Regions from separate parts of the Homo sapiens genome. Here all the other regions are linked to region 3. Evidence: promoter capture Hi-C in 16 types of primary human blood cells and fetal thymus (Javierre and others, 2016). All regions are on one chromosome and are shown on one strand. Each heading gives the region's core, a stretch centred on a gene start or on the middle of the fragment in contact. The rest is flanking DNA. Distances are from core to core; before and after follow the strand shown.

Region 1 (2,700 bases), core at 184-2,683, 190 kb before region 3:
TTAAGCTCCCCTATGCCGCCCAGCAGGAAACCAGTCACCGTGTCCTCGTCTCCGATCACTGCGATGAGCTTACCCCTCCCCGCCATCCCTGCAGCCGGGCAGAGCTCACCCTAGAGCACCAGAAGCCACTGAAACCCCGCCTCCGCCGTACGGCGCCCCGTCGGCCTCAACCCCCACCCTTCGAGCATGCGCAGTCCTCCCAGCCGCATTCCGGGACATGCGCATTAACAGCAACACGGCCTCCATGTGAATACGCCTGCGCCGTAAAGACAGGCCCGAACCAGGGGACTACGATTCCCAGAAGACCGCGCGGCACCACGTCCTTCGCGGGCATTCATTCGTTCATTCACTCGTTCCTTGGTTCATTCGTTCAACAAGCGCTTTGGACCTGACGCTGTTAGACGCCGAGACCCCAGAGAAGAGACGCAGTTACTCATCTCAAGGGCAGGGTCTGGGTCTTTATCGTGTATGTATGTGTGTAACTATGACACATAGTTAACAAGTAACACACGTTTGTTCAGTTAAAGGAATGCAAAAGTTAATGATGATACTGCCTAGTGAGGTGGAAAGTCAAGGGAACAGGCGACTACAAAGCTGTGTGTTAATGGTTAGAATGTGAAAAGTATATGGAAGCACACATCCATGGTAACTAACCCATGGAGAGAGGGGGCGTCCAAAGAACCCTTCCCCAAGAAGCTTGCTTCAGATCTAAGCTGAGACCTGAAGGACCTGCAGGATGAAGGGGATAGAAGTGAGGACAAGACGGTGTTCTAGGCAGAGGAACAGCATGTGCAAAGGCGTACTGACTAGAGAGCGTAGGGCCTTCAAGGAAAGTTAAATAATTGGTAAGGCCAGGCATGGTGGCTCACGCCACACCTGTAATCCCAGCACTTTGGGAGGCTGAGGCAGGTGGATCACCTGAGGTCAGGAGTTTGAGACCAGCCTGGCCAACATGGCGAAAACCCGTCTCTACTAAAAACACAAAAAATTAGCCGGGCGTGGTTGTGGGCGCCTGTAGTCCCAGCTACTCGAGAGGCTGAGGCAGGAGAATTGCTTCAACCCGGGAAGCGGAGGTTGCAGTGAGCCGAGATTGTGCCATTGCACTCCAGCCTGGGTGACAGAGCGAGACTCTGTCTCAAAAAAAAAAAAAAAAAAAAAAAAAAAAAATTAGCCAGGCGTGGTGGTGCACACTTATAGTTCCAGGTACTCGAGAAGCTGAGGCAGCAGGGCTTACTCAGGAGTTCAAGGTTACAGTGAGCTATGATCACGGCACTGCACTTAAACCTGAGCAGCAGAGCGAGACCCTGTCTAAAAAAAAAAAAAAAGGATCTGCAGGCTGGGCGCGGTGGCTCACGCCTGTAATCCCAGCACTTTGGGAGGCTGAGGCGGGTAGATCACCTGAAGTCAGGAGTTTGAGACCAGTCTGGCCAACATGGTGAAATCCCATCTCCACTAAAAATACAAAAAAAATTAGCCCAGTGAGGTGGTGTGTGCCTGTAGTCCCAGCTACTCGGGAGGCTGAGGCAGGACAATTGCTTGAACCCGGGCAAGGGAGGTTGCAGTGAGCTGAGATGGCGCCACTGCACTCCAGCCTAGGTGACAGAGTGAGACTCTGTCTAAAAAAAAAAAAAAAAAAAAAAAAAGATCTGGAAGTTATCCTGAGGACAGTTATCCTGAAGCTGCTGAGGGATTTCAAGTAAGAGAGTGCTATCGCCAAACTTACGTTTTAGAGCTGTCACTCACTGTTGACTGTGCTGTGTGCAGAGGCGAAACTGAGGGAGGAGAAACCAAATTGGGAGGCCACTGTGAGAGATAATGGTGGCCAGGACTCAGGTGGTGATAATGGGAAACGCAGAGAAGTAGGTAGAGCCGAGAGATATTTAGATATTTAGGACAAAACTGGTTTCAGAGTGGATGTGTTTGGGGAGTGAGGTAGAGAGAGAGACCTGGGTGATTTCCAGGTTTCTGGCCTGTGCAGCACATGGATGGGAGTAACATTGCCAAGAAAGTGACCTCTGTAAGATGAGCAGGCTGAAGGGGAAGGAGCCACTCTTTCCTCCTCCCTTTTAACAAATCAGCACTCCCGGTGTCTGGCATGGGGTTTGTGAGTTTGGAGTGCTTGAGACGTGCCCGTGGTCTGGTCTAGCGATTGTATGTGTGATAAGCTTGGGATTCGGGCACACCTGGGTTTCAATCTGTGCCCCACTACTTAAAGGTACGGTTTCAGACTCATCACTGAAATTCCCAGGGCCTTGGTTTCTTCAGATGGTAGTAGCCCCACCTCATAGGGCTGTTATGAGGATTAATGAGGAAGGGCCTGTAAGGCTCAGCACCCAGGGCCACACTGTGGCTGGCTGGAAGCAGGCAGGCTGGAGGTCTGTGAGCTTATCAGCCACACACAGGTGGAGGCAGCCGAAGCTGAGGGGGAAATTAGCACATCTAGGGGTGAGGGTGAGGGTGAGGGGGGCAGAGAGTGAGGATGGGTGTGTGGGAGGGTGTGAGGGAAGAGGGAGGAAGCACAGAGCCTGGTGAGAGAGGTGGGGAGGTCAGGGATTAGGAGTTGGGGACTCGTGGGTTTTTCTGCCAAGCCCACCACCATGTGCTGAAATGCCCAGGTGGGTCTAGATTGTGGGATCAGTTGAATGAAAGACTTCTTTTCCCTGCTGCAGCTACTCAGCTGCTCATTTATTCATTCATACC
Region 2 (2,700 bases), core at 158-2,657, 150 kb before region 3:
CAGGAGGCTGAGCTTGAAAGATTACATCACCTGGGCACCTCTGCGCTTTGTCTTCCCATTGAGTTCAGCTGATAAGGTACCAGTAGAATACTGGCAGGTGGGAGGAGAAGGTAGGGGAATATATATCCCACTTCCTCACGGCTCTGGCGGGGGCTGCACCCCATGTGGCTGCCACTCCTGCCTGGGGCCCATTTTCAGAGCTCCAGCTCTTGCTTCCTTTCCTTCCTGCTTCAGCCTGGGATGCTAACAGCTTTACACTGTTGCTAGTGCCTGGTACTTCACTATTTTTTGTTGCTTCTCCTAACTCTGCCTTTGGTACATAGTCTCTTCATTAAACTCTCTTCATGTAAAGCTTTGAGTGTGCCACCTGTTTACTGCCAGGACCCTGGCTGATTAAAGTCATCTCTGAGGGCGAATCCCTTGAGAAGTCACAAAGGCTAAGTCACGAAGGCACACACGTGGATCTTCTTAGGGCGGCCTTCTCATGTAGATAGGTGTGGGCACAGAACCTTAGGGGAGGTCTCCCCAGCCCTCAGTCACTCCATTTCTCCATGCTCAGGAGAGCACCTCAGGATGGGGTTAATAAGCACAGACTAACCCCTCTGTGAGTCAGTCGACAGCACAAGGGGCTAGCCTCATTTCTGAGGCCATCTGCAAGGTGAGAAGCCGCATTTAGGAGTCAGACCCTTATGTGAGGTACTTGGTTAAAGGGGGACTGCTCTGTTCTGGTTGTGTTGTGAGGCATTTAGCAAATAAAAATCCACAGTCTCATGTAATTCAGTTGATATTTAATTACAAGGAACTCAGGTTCTTACACAAGGCAGGAGATGGAAGTCAGCCGCTCCCCACAAGCCTTTTCAGCCTGGGTGACTGAGGCTGAGGAGATGGGGACACATGGAACATATGGGGAGGGTTCTGGCACAGTGTGTCCTGCCCAAAGCTGAGGGTGGTGGCCACTGGGGATCTGCCCTCGCGCTGGCCAAGGTCTGCCATCACTCCATGAGGCAGAACTCTGACTCCTGCTGTCGCATGTTGGGTAACACATACAGAGCCACAGCTGCAATAGCCAAGAATACCATAGGCTTCCACAACCCAAACATGTTCTGTGGGGACCAAAGAGAAACTGTGAGTGCCCAGCCTCCTGAACCCTGCCCTAAGCCAGAAGTCACCTGCCTATGGGTGCCCAAGACACCTCAGGAACATTGTGGATCAGTCTCTGTTACCTCCTGGGTAACCGGTGGAGGTAAGTGATCTCTCAGTCCTGGCACCACTAGACATGTGGCCCAACACTGTACGCACCACCTTAGGTGACCGCCTGTATTCAGGCCTCCGTTTCTCCCCATGGGCTGAGAATACTAGCTCCCATGTGAAGAAGCAGGCTCAGGGGCCAGACTTCCAAGTGGTTGCAATGAGAAAGGACTGGATGCCATGGCAAGAAAGAGGAGGGGAAATCTGGGGCTTTGAGAAAAGCAGCAGCACCTCATTAGTTTCACTGCAGTGAAGTGAACTCAGAGTCAAGAGGATGGGGAAGGGGGAATAAGGCTGAGGGGAAATGAAGAAAGTGCACCACGGAGTGCAGGTAAGTAGGAGGTTCTTAGGCAGACAAACTTTGACAGAGAATGACATTGGTTCAAGGAAATTTAAGGAAACCTGTCACTGGGCCTAGGTCATTAGAACACTCCTAATCACCAGGTATGTTGACTGACTTCCTGGTGCATGTGCTAGAGTATGCTGAGGCTTCCAGACACTGCCGGCCACTAGGGAACCCTGCTGATTCATGGGACAAGTGGCACCATCGAAGATATCCAAAAAGCATCCATTAGGTAATATGAAAATCTTAGACAAGAAAATACATACTTGGGGAAATAGGTTTTATTTTTATTACTTTTTTACTCTACTAACTGAAAGGTAGAATTTGGATTTTGAGTCATAAGCTATGGCATAGGTAACAGAAGGATGGTTTCAAGTAAAAATGGAATATAGCCCATTAATGCTAAGAACACATTTTCTCAGATGATAATTGATCTAAAAAGAGGACTTTAAGCCTGCTAAAGAGCAAAGAAAATCTCCTGAGCTTATAGAAATAGCTACTAAGAACAACAGAAGGTATGAAATGGAAAGCCAAGCAATGTTACAGGTGGATATACAGAGTAACTCATGTAAGAAAACCAAGAGATCCGGAGGCTGAGGGAGGAGGATCGCTTGAGACCGGGAGTTCAAAGTTACAGTGAGCCATGATCATGCCGCTGCACTCTAGCCTCGGTGACAGAGCGAGACCCTGTCTCTAAAACCAAAAACAAAAACTAAGAAGGGAGCTAGCTAGAAAAAAATATTTATATGCTCAGATGCCTCTATCCTAATGTGCATTGCTAAGAATGTTAGTCTGGTGTTCTTAAAGGAGGGAGGAGCTGAAATCCTTAAATGTGACCCGTGCACCTCACACTGGGCAAAGGCAAGCTTCTACATGGGATGGGGAAAGGGCTGGTGTGGGTGTCCCAAAGGGGAAGTCGTGTCAAACTCTCCTTTTAAACTAGGTGACCTAAGTGACAAATCACCGGAATCATGTTTTTGGACGTTGAGTTGTTTGACAGAATTTTCTATGATCTTTGCAGATAATATGCAGAAATAAGGGTAGGATGACAGTACAGTTTGTTGAATGGCAGGTAAGTGACCAATGAGCTGAATAAAAGAACCCCAAGA
Region 3 (2,700 bases), core at 29-2,528:
CATTTGAATGGGTCTGTGTCTTGCAGACCTTGCATTCCAGCCTCCCTGCCTTTCCTTAGGTACTTTGAAGCCCCTCTGTCTGGGATATCCTCCCCGCTGCTCTTCCACTTACCAAAATCTCAGCAGTCTCTCAAAGAATGGCTTAAGACCCTTCTGGAAAGCCTTCTTCAACTGCCAAAGTCCAGAGAGAATGCCTTGAATGAATGCCCCCAGCACCTGCTCTCTGCAGTCATGCCTGGTGCATCAGCTGGCCCAAGCTCTCTGACATAGAGCTTGCTTAGACAGTTACCAAATAACAGGTAAACCAAACTCATAGGCTTCCTGGCCAGGGACACTCTGATTTTTCTCTGCACCTCCTGCCCTGCACTCAGTAGATGTTTAGTGTGTGCTTACTGGCTGATTAACTGGTTATGCTCTCCTGCGCAGGAGCATGGGTTCAGGCTAGACCGCTAGAGGGAGGCAGGCAGCACCCGCGTTAAGACTTGATACTTACGAAAACGACCACCTTCCACTCCCAGTGGCCCCATCCCAGGCTCACTTCCATTGGTCATGTCACCACCATCCTTTTAGGGAATGGTAGGATCTGGGCAACACCTATTTACCCAGTGTCTTTGCTTTCAAACAAGGCTGTTTCTAAACCATCCCAGACTGAGGAGGATGGATTTCAGAGCAGAGTTTCTAACAGCAACCTTCATTCCCTGTAACCATCCACTTTGGACAAGTGGCCCAGAAAGGGCCTGTGAACCCTGCCTGGAGACTGAGCTCTGATCTCTCATTTGTAAAGCATAAATCAATTTCCCTAGAACAGATGACCTGCAGGTAGCTCTATCATACGGTAGGCACAAATGGAGGTGAACTTGGGACCCAGACCTTCTGGTTTTCTCTAGCTTTGGTGGCTTCTTTGTCCCCCCGCCCCCCCCTCCCCCAGGGCTTTAAAAGGCCACAGCATCTCCTAACCAACCCCTAGGAACAGGTTTTGGAAACAGAAAGACAGCTGGCCCTGAGCTCCACGAGGGTACCTGGATAAAGTTGCTTTCAAACACCACCGAGTTGGAGAACAAATTGAATTCTGGAGAATGAATCAGTTGACAAAGAAGGCCATTTTCCACCCCAAGTTCCACTCCAGGGCCTGGTTCCCTGACCTCAGGTGGGAGGCCCCTGATTTTACTCATTGGTTCTTGGTAAGAATGGGCTTGGGAACATTTCTGGGGCTCCACGCCGACCCAGCCCAATGCCAGGATGTTGATGTGATCTGCCCCCACCTCCCCAGCATTTCCTCCCCATTTACTTACGGGCTGTCCACCAGGGCTGGGAGGGCCTGTCAGCTCACAATGGCAGGAATGACATCAAGGAATGTGATGGTGACAACAGAAAAGGGAAAAAAAAAAGAAGAGGAAGGACAGAGGATGTGCCAGGCTCTTTTCTCCCTCTTTCCACCAACTACAAACCAGCAGTAATGCAGCCTATTCCACTTTGTAAACATTCAGCCTTACCCCACATGGAAAAAATGACCCTCCCAAAGTTATGCCAAGGCAGCAGTGAGCTGGCCAGATGCAAGGAAGGCTCTCGGGAACATACAGGCTTTAATCCTCTTGGCTCCCCTTGAAGCCCCTCACCAAACTTCCATGGGACTTGTTCACCTGCCCAGGGAAGTCTAAGGATAGGAAAAAGGGAGTTCATCTTCCCTACCCCATCTCATGGGAGAAAAGGAGATTTTTTTTTTTTTTTAAAGAAATGGACACCTGTTAACTAAACTGAGAAGCTTATTTATTTGGAAACAGTGGGCAAAGGAGAAGGCAGTGGCACAGTTGTATGCTGGAGCCAGACCAAAACAGGTCACGAGAGCTGGTTGTTACATTTTCAGGAATGCTACAAACCAGTTGTTAAACACAGCAATTATTAAAACTTTTTTTTTTTTTTTTTTGAGACAGAGTTTTGCTCTTGTTGCCCAGGCTAGAGTGCAGTGGCGTGATCTCGGCTCACCACAACCTCCGCCTCCCATCTTCAAGCAATTCTCCTGCCTCAGCCTCCCGAGTAGCTGGGATTACAGGCATGCACCACCACACCCGGATAATTTTGTATTTTTAGTAGAGACAGGGTTTCTCCATGTTGGTCAGGCTGGTCTGGAACACCTGACCTCAGGCGATCCACCCACCTCGGCCTCCCAAAGTGCTGGGATTACAGTCATGAGCCACCAAGCCCAGCCTTTAAAACTTAAATGATATAAACTTGGCTGGGCTTGGTGGCTCATGACTGTAATCCCAGCACTTTGGGAGGCCGAGGTGGGTGGATCGCCTGAGGTCAGGTGTTCGAGACTAGCCTGGTCAACGGGTGAAACCCCGTCTCAACTAAAACTACAAAAATTAGCCGGGTGTGGTGTGGGTACCTGTAGTCCAGCTACTTGGGAGGCTGGGGCAGGGCGATCGCTTGAATCTGGGAGGTGGAGGTTGTGATGAGCCAAGATGGTGCCACTGCACTCCAGCCTAAGCGACAAAGCAAGACTCTGTCTCAAAAAAAAGAAAAGAAAAGAAACAGTATACAGTGGTGGGCTGCTGCATATCTCTTCCCAGGGTGTGTTCAGGAACTTCATCTTGTTAGCTAGCTTGAAATCAGCAAGTGCTACAAATCAGGGTTTGATTTATTGTTCTGTTGATTGTCTAAACTAAAGTGATAGAGAAAATGTTAATTATGCAGATTAAA

Evidence for each region. Contacts are between HindIII fragments. The CHiCAGO score rates a contact against its expected background, and 5 or more counts as called.
Region 1: a fragment that was not itself captured here is called in contact with the fragment with the promoter of GARIN1A in region 3 in 1 of 17 cell types (endothelial precursors); the score reaches 5.8 in endothelial precursors.
Region 2: a fragment that was not itself captured here is called in contact with the fragment with the promoter of GARIN1A in region 3 in 1 of 17 cell types (M1 macrophages); the score reaches 5.4 in M1 macrophages.

The regions. Positions count from the first base shown.
Region 1 is chr7:128,860,291-128,862,990 of GRCh38, reverse strand. It overlaps FLNC-AS1 (FLNC antisense RNA 1), which reads left to right and starts at 365. Exons shown (of 4, transcript NR_149055.1): 1 at 365-466. It overlaps ATP6V1F (ATPase H+ transporting V1 subunit F), which reads right to left and starts at 135. Exons shown (of 2, transcript NM_004231.4): 1 at 1-135. The coding sequence starts at 86. RefSeq lists enhancers at 1-331, 412-521. The HindIII fragment of the contact is 1,469 bases long and covers 699-2,167 here.
Region 2 is chr7:128,820,202-128,822,901 of GRCh38, reverse strand. It overlaps CCDC136 (coiled-coil domain containing 136), which reads right to left. Exons shown (of 18, transcript NM_022742.5): 18 at 772-1,103. Among named protein-coding and RNA genes, the nearest start is that of FLNC, 8.9 kb to the left of the region's middle. The HindIII fragment of the contact is 2,105 bases long and covers 355-2,459 here.
Region 3 is chr7:128,670,870-128,673,569 of GRCh38, reverse strand. It overlaps GARIN1A (golgi associated RAB2 interactor 1A), which reads right to left and starts at 1,278. Exons shown (of 5, transcript NM_001128926.4): 1 at 1,020-1,278. The coding sequence starts at 1,172. RefSeq lists a silencer at 357-416. The HindIII fragment of the contact is 20,881 bases long and covers 1-1,764 here.